3 separate regions of the Homo sapiens genome follow, and all the other regions are linked to region 1. The links are contacts of gene promoters, found by promoter capture Hi-C in human tissues and cell types (Jung and others, 2019). All regions are on one chromosome and are shown on one strand. The core of a region is centred on a gene start or on the middle of the fragment in contact, and the rest is flanking DNA. Distances in the headings are between cores, read along the strand shown.

Region 1 (3,721 bases), core at 570-3,069:
TTGTGCCATCTTCAAATGGAGGTGATAATCCTGTTCTGCCTAATTCGTGGGGCTGCTGGGAGGACACAATAAAATAAGTGAAAGCACTTGGAAAACTAGTTCCTTTACATTGTCATGTTCTGGAAATGCTGGCTTTTTATGACAGTAGACTTCTGAAGCATCCCATTCTGACTAGGAAATGGTCATGAAAGCATCCCTCTTTCTGAGGCCGATGGGCTTGTGGGGGACAGGACTTTTACTCCTTTTCATCTAAGAGGTTTATACTTACCAGGCTGTGAGAACTGACATCTGTGTTTGGGCTGAAAAATTGATAGCATACATGCATAATAGCCTCGCGACAGCTATGCTTTGTACGCCAGGAGAGGCAGGTGGTCCCCATTAGCGAGGCATGAATTGTGGGTGAATGGCTAAACCTGGAGGATGCAGAAAGGTCTTTTTCATTAAGAGAGGGGCCTCTCCTGAACTTGTAGGCAAGGAGTGTAAATATACATTGAAATAATCCATCAGCCAAGTGACTTCCCTTCGTCAGACCTTGGAGAGAGAATGCTTTAGTTACTGCTTGGAATACCAGTAAGCTATCAGAGTTGCCTAGGATACCAGTCACATGGGCCCATCTTCCAGACTTGCTCAGGATGATTTATTTTCCTTTATTTTGGAGAGAAGTGGGGGAGGGGGTCAGAGGTACTTGCAAAGCCTTGTCCTTATAAGAGGGGCCCTTGTGTGAGGATATCCTTACCTCTCTCCACTTGAGTTGTCAGCCGCCCTTGCCCTTGGCAGTAGGGACGAAAATAGCATTTCCTGTCCCAGTTATCTTCCCCATTTTCTGATGTCGTCCCACACAGAGGAGGCTTTGCATTGTGTCCTTTGAGGGGAAAGGGGTGGCATCGATGAGTGGGGAGGAAGCAAGAGAGCATGTAGCTGGGCCCTGCTGATGCTGGGATCTTCCTAGGATGACTGCAGAAAGAAGTAGCCTGGCTCCTCCAGCTAACCACTCAACCAAGAAAAGGCTGTCTATTCTTATCTGTCTCGGAGCATATGCTTCTCTCCTCCCAAGGTCTCAAGACAGGAATTTGCAGTAAATACATTCCTCTACCACTGAGTCTTCTTGACTCTTAAACTGAAGTGCCACATTGGCATATCTTGCTACTGGCTGATCTATGGATGATAGATAGTTTGTCCCATTTCTTCTTGCTGATTTAATCTCAAGAGACAAAATCCTAAGCAGAAGTTGTGGTATGATCTAGAAAAATTCAAACCAGGTAGTTTCATGTGTTACTTTATGCAGTGTCTGTCTTCAAACTCTTCAAAACATGTAACAAGAGTGAAAAATGAAGAAATACTCTTTTTCCACCTTTCTGATTCTTTCTCCCCAGGCAGCCGTGTCTGTGTTTTTGTCTCGCAGAATTAGAGCCCATTGGGAACGATGCCACCACCGTCAGACATTGTCAAAGTGGCCATTGAGTGGCCAGGTGCTAACGCCCAGCTCCTTGAAATCGACCAGGTATGCTCCTGAAGTGAGAAGCAGTGGTTCAAGGAAAGGCACCTGGGGAGTGCATGGCAGAGGACATCTTGAGGGATGGGGACCACCGGCATCAAGAGTAAGAACGAGCAACAGGAAGGCTAAGCTTTGGGCCTGGCCCACCCTAGGGAAGGTCGGTCACCATGGCTTGGGAGAGGCTTCCTCTTCAACAAAAGCTGTTAGGAAAGAAGTTCATTCTCATGCCCCAGCTTGACCCTGCTTGGCAGGCCTCTTGTCAGAACCTTGGCATGAGTAGGATGTTGCTGCTGTTGAAGGCTTTCTCTCTCTCTCTTTCAGAAACGGCCCCTGGCATCCATTATCAAGGAAGTTTGTGATGGGTAGGTTGAAATGGACCTCGTTTTCAACAGTGGCAGCTCCGACTGAAAGAGCACTCCTACACCTTGAGGGGAGTTCTGGGAAGGATCTCCAGTTAGGCAGGTCCTCAGCATGGGGGTCTTGGGAATCATTGTCTTGGGAAGGAAGTACAGTTGACAACCATACCCCTAAGACGTTTATACTTCTTAATTTTTTCCTTAAAGTCTAGCATTGCCCTATTGAGGTAGGATCTGAGACCCCTCCTCAGTTCTGCACACCTCCTATTGTGGTGCTCATCTTTACAAAAGGCTGAGGCCATGATTTTTTCAACATGACAACCTAAAGCTTTGTTTCCACTGTATTCCAAATAGGCCACCCAATCCCTTGAGCAACTCTTTTGAAAATTACTTATGAGCAGCTTCTGAACAAGAGAGTGGCCAAGTGGGATATACTGTTTTTCTCTTGCATAGGTGGTCGTTGCCAAACCCAGAGTATTATACCCTCCGTTATGCAGATGGTCCTCAGCTGTACATCACCGAACAGGTTAGTACAGGGAGAGGCAAAATCAATATGGGCCTTGCTTGGAATTAAACGACCCAAGGAGACGGCACTATTTATCTTCACTCAGCATCCAGGTAGCTTCCATGTGTTGGGTAAAGAGTCACTCTCCGGACAGACTGGGAAACACCAGCCCTTGTTCTTCCCTAGTGGCTAGAAAAAGGTGGCTTTTACTTCCTGAGTGCCCAGGGTGCTAGAGGAGGATCTTAGAAATTCTTTGCCAAGGAATAAGCAGGAGAAGAGGGCCCGACTGAAGATCCTCAGTTACATCTACTGTAAAAAAGACAAAACATTATTGTTGATTCAACTTGCTTGTACCACTTTAACATTTTATCTTAGTTACTTTTTTTGTTTATTTTTCACTACCCAGACTCGCAGTGACATTAAGAATGGGACAATCTTACAACTGGCTATCTCCCCGGTAGGTATTCTTTCTTCCTTAGGAGTTTATTCATGTCACAAACAAATATGAGCACCTACCATGGGCCAGACTCTGTTCTAGAAATAAGTACTCTGGAGATAAGAAAGTCAGTCTTTTTGTATCAGGAAATAGTACAGGAAAATAAGTCTGTCTTGGTTCTCACCACCTAGTGGGGAGTAAACAAATGCAATAGAAGGCCTGTCTCAAGGGTCTTGAGAGAAAGTTGCTTAGGGAGCTGTGGGAACTCACAAAGGGGACCACCTAACTCAGCCTGGAGATTTCCAGAAAGTCTTGCCAGAGAAGGCGTCACTTAGCTCAGATGTTAAAGGATGAGCAAGAATTAGCTAGAGAAATAAGAAAAGGAAAAGTATTCCAGTCAGAGAAATCAGCATATGCCAAGGCACAGAGGTATGCTGTGTTTGGGAAAAGCAGGAGTGCTGGGTGGCTGGAGGCTTGTAGCAGTCATTGAGAAGCCAGATATTCAAGGTTCCTTGATGGCCTACTCGTAGGTTTCAACTCTGTCCAGAAGGAAACTGGGGACATTGAAGAATTTTAAGCAGGAAGATATGTTATGTTTAGATTTTAAGTTTTAGAAAGATCACTTTAGTGACCATGTGGAAGATGGGCCTTAAGAAGAAGGTTGGTGGTAGTAGGAACCTTTGAAGAGGCTAATAAGGAATGTTAACAGCCCAGTGAAGGCAAGTGGTAATGGAGATGAAAGGATGGATATGAAGAGTATCTAGGAGGTAAGCTTTATGAGTATGGTGATATGCTAGATGTGGAAGGAAAGGGGAGAATGGAGGATGACCCTGATTTGTGCAAGAGCAGCCCTTAAAGGTCACTAAGGAAGCAACCAGAAGGGTAGAAAGAACACCAAGAAGGTGAAGTGACTGAGGAGCTTTGGGCAG
Region 2 (3,938 bases), core at 685-3,184, 420 kb after region 1:
AAAAGGACCAGATGAATCCCCTCATACACAAGTGCACACAAATAACAGCTCAAAGCACCCTTTGTCCTTTTTATTTTTATTTATTTATTTATTTTTTGAAGCGGAGTTTCTCTCTTGTCGCAATGGCACAATCTCGGCAACCTCCGCCTCTGGGCTTCAAGCGATTCTCCTGCCTCAGCCTCTCGAGTAGCTGGGACTACAGGCGCGCGCCACCACACCCAGTGAAATTTTGTATTTTTAGTAGAGACAGTTTCACCATGTTGGCCAGGCTGGTCTCGAACTCCTGACCTCAAGTGATCCACCGGCCTCAGCCTCCCAAAGTGCTGGTTATTACAGGTGTGACCCACCGAGCCCGGACCTTTTCTCCTTATTAATAGGTCTTCTCCTTAGGACTTTTTGTTTGTTTGTTTGAGACAAGAGTTTCCGCTGTTGTTCCCCAGGCTGGAAGGCAATGGCGTGATCTCGGCTCACCGCAACCTCTGCCTCCCGGGTTCAAGCTATTGTCCTGGCTCAGCCTCCTGAATAGCTGGGATTACGGCATGCGCCACCACGCCCAGCTGCTTTTGTATTTTTCGTACAGATGGGGTTTCTCCATGTTGATCAGGCTGGTCTCAAACTCCCAACCTCAGGTGATCCGCCCGACTCAGCTTCCCAAAGTGCTGAGATTACAGGCGTGAGCCACCGCGCCCAGCCTGCTTAGGAGTTTTTTTGAGATTTTTTTCCCCCAAAATTTGTATCTTTCAATTAAGGAAAATAGCCTATGGAACTACAGAGACTTAGGGACAAAAACCAGAGCGCCTTACTCCCTCTTGTGCTCTTCCACTGCAAACTGCTAAAAGTCTTAAAACAGAAGGTGACATTTCCGGAGGAAGGACATACCTTAAGGGCAGCTGACTTTTAATTAAAATTTTTTTTCTTTCTCCACTTTTAAAGGATAGGTAGTTGACTTGTATTTATTTATTTTTTGAAAGAGGGTCTCGCTCTGTCGCCCAGGCTGAAGTGCAGTGGTGTGATCACGGTTCGCTGCAGCCTCAACCTCCCAGACTCAAGCGATCCTCCCACCTCAGCCTCCCGAGCAACTGGGATTATAGGCACGCGCCACCATGCCTGGCTAATTTTTCTTTTTTTTCTTTTTTTTGTAGAGATGGGGTCTCGCTCTTTTGCCCAGGCTGGTTTGGAACTCCTGGGATCAAGCGATTCTCCTGCCTTGGCGTCCCAAAGTGTTGGAATTACAGGCGTGACTCACAGCGCCCGGCCTCAGCTCTATTAATGTTAACAAATATGTATACAAACCTAAGGGACAAGCATTAACTTCTTTCCATTTCCCCGACTCCTGCCATCCGTACTTAGCTCCTGAGTCCCTTTATTGGATGTGATTTTGGACCAGCCCTTCCCATACCCAGACCTCAGTTTCCCTATCTGTACAATAATTATACATTCCCTTCCCAACAAAACACATCAAACCTAACGGGCAGAGCTCGATTGGGTTGCAGCAGCGCGCTAAGTAATAAGTAATGAGTCAGGTAAAATGACTGACAACATGAATTCCTCTTTGGCCAAGCCAAAGTCGCCCGCGGCCACACGCTCTTCCGGGCTGTTGTAGGAGGGGCGCGGCCAAGCCACCGGGAGCCACGCCCCCCACTGGGAGCCACGCCCCAAGAGAGCGGGGCGCGCATTCGCCGCGCCCAACCCTGCGGCCTAGGGAAGGGACCAGAATGACGTCACAACCACTTCCTACGTAACACTCCGCCGAGATAAAGTAGTCCCCAAACCATAGTGGGCTCAGTGCCAAACACCGGGCGACGTATAAAGTCCCAGAGTCTGTTGAGACCCGATTATGGTTTTGAGGCCTCGGAGCGACCTTCCGGAACACTGAAAATGTGTCTTTCCCGGGGCCAGCGGGGGAAGTAGTTCCGGCCTACAATAGGCCGATGGGTTCCTCCGCAGCGGAGGAAAGAGGATGGCGACCTCGTCGATGCCGGAGTCAGAGAGGAACGTGGCTACGAAAGCCTCGGGTGAGCTTCGGGTAGAGTTAGGCGGCCCCACCGTACCCTGCCGTGGAGTGAGGTCACACTGCGGGGATACCCGGAGGCGAGGTCCCAGGCCGGCGGGGCTGTCCGAACAGGGCCCCGGGGTCCCAGGCCCTTTAGTCGCTCTCGCACTTGCCTGAGCGGAAACCCGGCGCCACCACAAGATGGCGTCGGGCCTGGAGCACAGGCAGCGCCGGGGACAGCCCCAAATCGCCAGGCCCCGAGACCGTCGCTGTCAGCCGCCTCCGCAGGGGAACCGGGGGGGAGCGAACCACTGACCCAGGGGGCCAGCGGGCTGTACCACCGGCCCTGCAACCCGGGGGGACGCGGGGGCCGAAGGGCTGAACCACTGGGCCCGGATGGGGCTCACAGAGCGGAACGCTCCACGAGAATCGTGGGGGCGAGGGAAAGGGTCAAGATTACCAGCCATTGACCACCCTCCCGGGAAGGGCCTTAGCCTGGGAAGCACAGCTTCTCCGTCAAGTTTTTCCCGAGCTCCCCTCGCAATACACCAGGAAGCTCCGCCCCGTCGGAGACTCAATCTTCGCATCTGCAAAATGGGCGCAGGGGTGCAAATGGGTGGCCGTGGTTGCCGGGGCTGGGGAGATGGCCCACTTGTTCCAGCCACGGTCACCTCTCTTCTCAGAGTGAAGTTCCCAGACCCTACGCCCCGCTGTCAGGCAGCCCGCCGATCAGATGGAGGAGAACGAGGTGGAGAGCAGCAGCGACGCGGCCCCTGGGCCTGGCCGGCCCGAGGAGCCCTCTGAGAGCGGCCTGGGTGTGGGCACCTCAGAAGCCGTGTCCGCCGACAGCAGCGACGCCGCGGCCGCCCCGGGGCAGGCAGAGGCCGATGACTCTGGCGTGGGGCAAAGCTCGGACCGCGGCAGCCGTTCTCAGGTATGGACCCGGCTGGACGGCGTGGGTGGAGGCAAGGACCGCGAGCAGCAGTGCCTGACAGCCAAGAGGAAACAAGGCTTGTTTGTAGCTAATACTTGGTGTTTCTGGTTTACTGTGAGCCAGGCACCAAGCCAAACCCCTAAAATGGATTTTCTCATTTGAGCTTCATACCTTCTAAGACACATACCATTTTTTCCCACATCTTATAGAAAAGGATGCCGAGGTACAGAGTGCAGACAGAGCCAGGATTCAAATCTAGGCTGTGGTCTTAGCTACTATACTACCCACAGTCCTCACACTTTGAGAGGCAGATGTCTAGGCCAGGAGTGGTAGCTCATCGCCTGTAATCCCAGCACTTTGGAAGGCTGAGGTGGGAGGATCACTTGAGCCCAGGAGTTGGAGACCAGCTTGGGCAAATAGCGAGACCTCATCTCTACAAAAAAAAAAAAAAAAACGCAAGTGCCCTGGGTTAAGACTGGGTCCTGCCTCCAGTTTACTGGGAGACCTCTTTGAGCCTCAGTATCCCGGCTAAAGTAAAGCAGAAATACTTGCTTTCAAGGGTGCTTGATTGTGAGCTCCCACCAGACATCCTCTTGCAAACATTTTGTAAACCATCTCCTCCTGGCTGTGCCACTTCCTAGCCGTGTGATCTTGAGCAAGCTACCCAACATCTAGCTCTGTTTCCTCGTCTGTAAAGTGGGAATGGTAAATATACCTGCCTCATAGAGTTTTTGTGAGGATGAAATGAATTAACATATGCAAAGCTAATAATTAAAACAGTGCTCAGCACATTGTAAGCACTCAGTAAGTATTAGCCATTCTTATATGCAAGATAATGGTCATATTCAGTATATCACGTGATAGAAGTACACAGCAGTGGTCATCACTTTGGGGTCCTGGGGTTTCATTAGTTCAGCAGAGATGGGGGCCTACCATGTGCTCAGCGTGTGCTGGGCCCTGGAAATACAGCAGAGGAAAAGACAAGTTTGGTCCAGGCCCTTGTGGAGGGCA
Region 3 (3,699 bases), core at 1,200-3,699, 480 kb after region 1:
ACACAAGAGTCTAAGTACATAACTACCGGGCTATAAAGCCCACCTTCCACTCTTCCATGAACAGTCTACGGATTCCCTAATAGCAGCCACAGAATTGCTTCAACCTCTACTTCCTGTTAAAGAGGGTTCATAATAGTGCCAGTCTGACAGGTTGTTAAGGTTAAATAAATTACCTAGAATTCGGATGACCAGTTGTAAGGTTTCCCAGGGACTGAGTGGGTTCCCAGGAATGGTTTCAAAATGGGGATGGCTGGATGTGTGGCTCACGCCTGTAATCCCAGCACTTTGGGAGCCCAAGGCAAGAGGATCACTTGGGTCCAGGAGTTCAAGATCAGCCTGGGCAACATGGTGAGACCTGTCTCTACAAAAAATACAAAACTTAGCTGGACATGACATGGTACCACCTGCCTGTAGTCCTAGCTACTCAGGAGGCTGAGGTGGGAAGATCGCTTGAGCCCAAGAGGTGGAGGCTTCAGTGAGCCGTGATTGTACCACTGCACTCCAGCCTGGGCAACAGAGCAAGACCCTGTCTCTAAAAATATAAATAGGCGGCCGGGCGCGGTGGCTCACGCCTGTAATCCCAGCACTTTGGGAGGCCAAGGCAGGTGGATTGCCTGAGGTCAGGCGTTCGAAACCAGCCTGGCCAACATAGCGAAACCATATCTCTACTAAAAATACAAAAAATTAGCTGAGCGTAGTGGTGGGTGCCTGTAATCCCAGCTACTTGGGAGGCTGAGGTAGGAGAATTGCTTGAACCTGGTAGGCGGAGGTTGCAGTGAGCCGAGATTGCGCCATTGCACTCCAGCCTGGGCAACAAGAGAGAAACTCCATCTTAAATAAATAAATAAAAATAAATAAATAGGCTGGGCATGGTGGGTCACACCTGTAATCCCAGCACTTTGGGAGGCTAAGGCAGGCGGATCACTTGAGGGCAGGAGTTCAAGACCAGCCTGGCCAAAATGGCAAAACCCTGTCTCCACTAAAAATACAAAAATTAGCCAGGTGTGGTGGCACATGGCTGTAGTCCCAGCTACTTGGGAGGCTGAGGCAGGAGAATCACTTGAACCCAGGAGGCAGAGGTTGCAGTGAGCCAAGATCACACCACCGCACTGCAGCCTGGTGACAGAGCACGACTGTGTCTCAAAAAAATTAATTAATTAATTAAATAAAAAAGGAAATGGAACTATTTTTGTGAATCTGTGGATTATATCAGAAAAAAAAGACACAATGGGGAAAGTCCTAGGCAAATCAGGATGAGTTAGTCATCCTTCCTAGATGAGTGTTTGGTGCTAAATACATGCTCAGCAGACATGATTATTGCTTCCCCTTTCTTTCGTCCATTTGGCAACAAAAAGGTGGCAAGCACCCACTCTGTGCCCTGTCCTAGGGTCCGGGAACCCTGTAAGCAGTAGATGGAGGTGGGGGTGGGGGTGGGGGCGGGGATGCTGTTCAGAGCACCTTGCTCCAAGGGTTCATTAAAAAATCCACCAGTGGACCGGGCGCGGTGGCTCATGCCTTTAATCCCAGCACTTTGGGAGGCCGAGGCGGGCGGATCACAAGGTCAGGAGATCGAGACCATCCTGGCTAACACGGTGAAACCCCGTCTCTACTAAAAATACAAAAAAAATTAGCCGGGCGTGGCAGCGTGCGCCTGTAGCCCCAGCTGCTGGGGAGGCTGAGGCAGGAGAATGGCGTGAACCCGGGAGGCGGGGCTTGCAGGGAGCCGAGATCGCGCCACTGCACTCCAGCCTGGGGGACAGAGCGAGACTCCGTCTCAAAAAATAAAAATAAAAAAAATAGAAAAAACAATCCACCAGCCACGATAAATGGCAGACCTCCTTCTGATTTCAGCCGGTGTGGTATGTTCCTGGGCTGACAGCACTTGTCTAGTCTTGCTTTCCCAAGTGGGAAAGGTCTCTGGGACCTTAAGGTCCCCAGGTGGTGACACAGAGACAGGTAGGGGGGCCCATAGCAAAGCCAGGCAAGGAGGTCCCGAGATGATTGTGGGTGGCAGGGAAAGAAAAAATATTCCTTGACTTTGTGCCTGGACCTGGTTGTAATAAAGGCCCAAGAGGTAGTTCCTATCATCGTGCACATTTCGCTGAAGGAAGAAACTGAGGGTCAGTGACCCAAGTGAAGTGACTTGCCCAAGATCATGCAGGAAGACATGGATAATTGTAATTTGAACCAAGGTCCCAGCAAAGTGGGATTGTTGGGGCTGAGTGGGCCGGCTCCTGCATTTCCTTCCCTCTCCCTGGGCTTGGGTCTCCCACTTGTCCAGACAGCGGCCGGGCTTGTCACGGGGCTCTGTGCAGCCTTTTCCACTCTCCCGGCTGCCAGCGTCCCGCCCCGTCCCCTCCCAGCCCCCAAGGGAGGAGGGGAGAGCTGCAGAGAGGAGGAGGGGTCGGGGAGGCCGGCTTTATAAAGGCGGCTGGAACAACCCTGCCCGCCAGACCCCGTCGCCCGGATCCCCTGAGCTGCCCGCCATCCCACGTGACCGCGCCGCCCCCCAGCTCCACCGCTGAGTGAGTTGGGGCGCGTCCCTATCCCGTTCCCAGTCCCTCGCCGAGCCGCGTGGTGCACTGAAGCCGGCGTGGGGAGGAGAGCCGATGAAGGAGAACGCTAACATGGGGGCTCCAGGCAGAATCTCTAATGGGAGAGATTTAGGACCTGAGGGAGCCGGGAGACCCGGGAGCCCACGGTCTGGTCGGCCACCTCCTCTCCTCCCCGGGCGCGAGGCCTAGGAGACCGCAAGCCACCCTCCAAGAATGCGCGTGCAGTCGTTGCCGTGGCAACGTGCAAGCCTGCATGGGCCCACCGCTAAAGGAAAGGGGAGGTTGTTGGGGGTGTGGGGGCTGGTCCCCTGGAGGTCCAAACTCATCACGCGGCGGTAGCACGAGGGAACTGGGAACGTCCCCTCCCCCGTGTCCCAAATCCTCTGGGAGCCAGAACGCAAGTCGCATCGCCTCTCTGAGCCTCAGTTTCCACATCTGCCATATGGAGGCAAGATTATTGGTTCCAAGTTCCCCGAAGAGTTATCTGGAGGGTAACGATCCAGGCTAGTTCCCACTTATGGTTGGACGTCCAAGGAATGGGTTTAAGCGGCTCAGATAACTCCTGCGACCCCACCCCACCCCCAGGCCCGCTCGCCATGGCCCTCTTCGGGGCCCTCTTCCTAGCGCTGCTGGCAGGCGCACATGCAGAGTTCCCAGGCTGCAAGATCCGCGTCACCTCCAAGGCGCTGGAGCTGGGTAAGGCGCAGGGGCAGACAGGGACGGACGGGAGCGGACGGGGTTGGGGTCGCCCCAACAGTGGGCACGGGAGCTAAGTAAGGGTTTCTCTGCTGCTTCAGTGAAGCAGGAGGGGCTGCGCTTTCTGGAGCAAGAGCTGGAGACTATCACCATTCCGGACCTGCGGGGCAAAGAAGGCCACTTCTACTACAACATCTCTGAGTAAGTGGGGGGCGGGGCCTCGCGATCCGGGGCGGGGCCTCGGCGGTGGAGGCGGGGCCCGAGAAATCTCAGGGTCTCGGGAGACTGGAGGCTGAGTGGGATGGGGCGTGGCCAAATCGATGAGGCAAGACTTAAGAAACCGGATGGGGCCGAAAAGATAAAGGCCAAGCCAGTCATCATAGGCGGGACCAGGCAGATGGGCGTGGCCTTGAAAATGTAGAGGGGGCCAAGAAGGAAGCAGGACCAG

Evidence for each region. The method cuts DNA at HindIII sites, captures the fragments that hold promoters and counts their contacts. A contact is called where the count stands out against the background at its distance.
Region 2: the fragment with the promoter of ZNF335 here is called in contact with a fragment that was not itself captured in region 1 in 1 of the 25 tissues and cell types used here (spleen).
Region 3: a contact is called between the fragment with the promoter of PLTP here and a fragment that was not itself captured in region 1, in 2 of the 25 tissues and cell types used here (dorsolateral prefrontal cortex and spleen).

The regions. Positions count from the first base shown.
Region 1 is chr20:46,392,185-46,395,905 of GRCh38, reverse strand. ELMO2 (engulfment and cell motility 2) reads left to right here. Exons shown (of 22, transcript NM_133171.5): 3 at 1,374-1,501; 4 at 1,817-1,857; 5 at 2,305-2,377; 6 at 2,763-2,813. The coding sequence starts at 1,424. It overlaps LOC124904917 (a long non-coding RNA gene), which reads right to left. Exons shown (of 3, transcript XR_007067614.1): 3 at 1-2,665. Among named protein-coding and RNA genes, the nearest start is that of ELMO2, 13 kb to the left of the region's middle. RefSeq lists an enhancer at 1,173-1,672. The HindIII fragment of the contact is 3,871 bases long and covers 1-3,721 here.
Region 2 is chr20:45,970,199-45,974,136 of GRCh38, reverse strand. ZNF335 (zinc finger protein 335) reads left to right here and starts at 1,934. Exons shown (of 28, transcript NM_022095.4): 1 at 1,934-2,015; 2 at 2,677-2,927. The coding sequence starts at 2,727. RefSeq lists an enhancer at 1,313-1,532 and a silencer at 2,303-2,422. The HindIII fragment of the contact is 24,986 bases long and covers 1-3,938 here.
Region 3 is chr20:45,910,905-45,914,603 of GRCh38, reverse strand. PLTP (phospholipid transfer protein) reads left to right here and starts at 2,449. Exons shown (of 16, transcript NM_006227.4): 1 at 2,449-2,525; 2 at 3,141-3,251; 3 at 3,353-3,452. The coding sequence starts at 3,152. The HindIII fragment of the contact is 16,312 bases long and covers 1-3,699 here.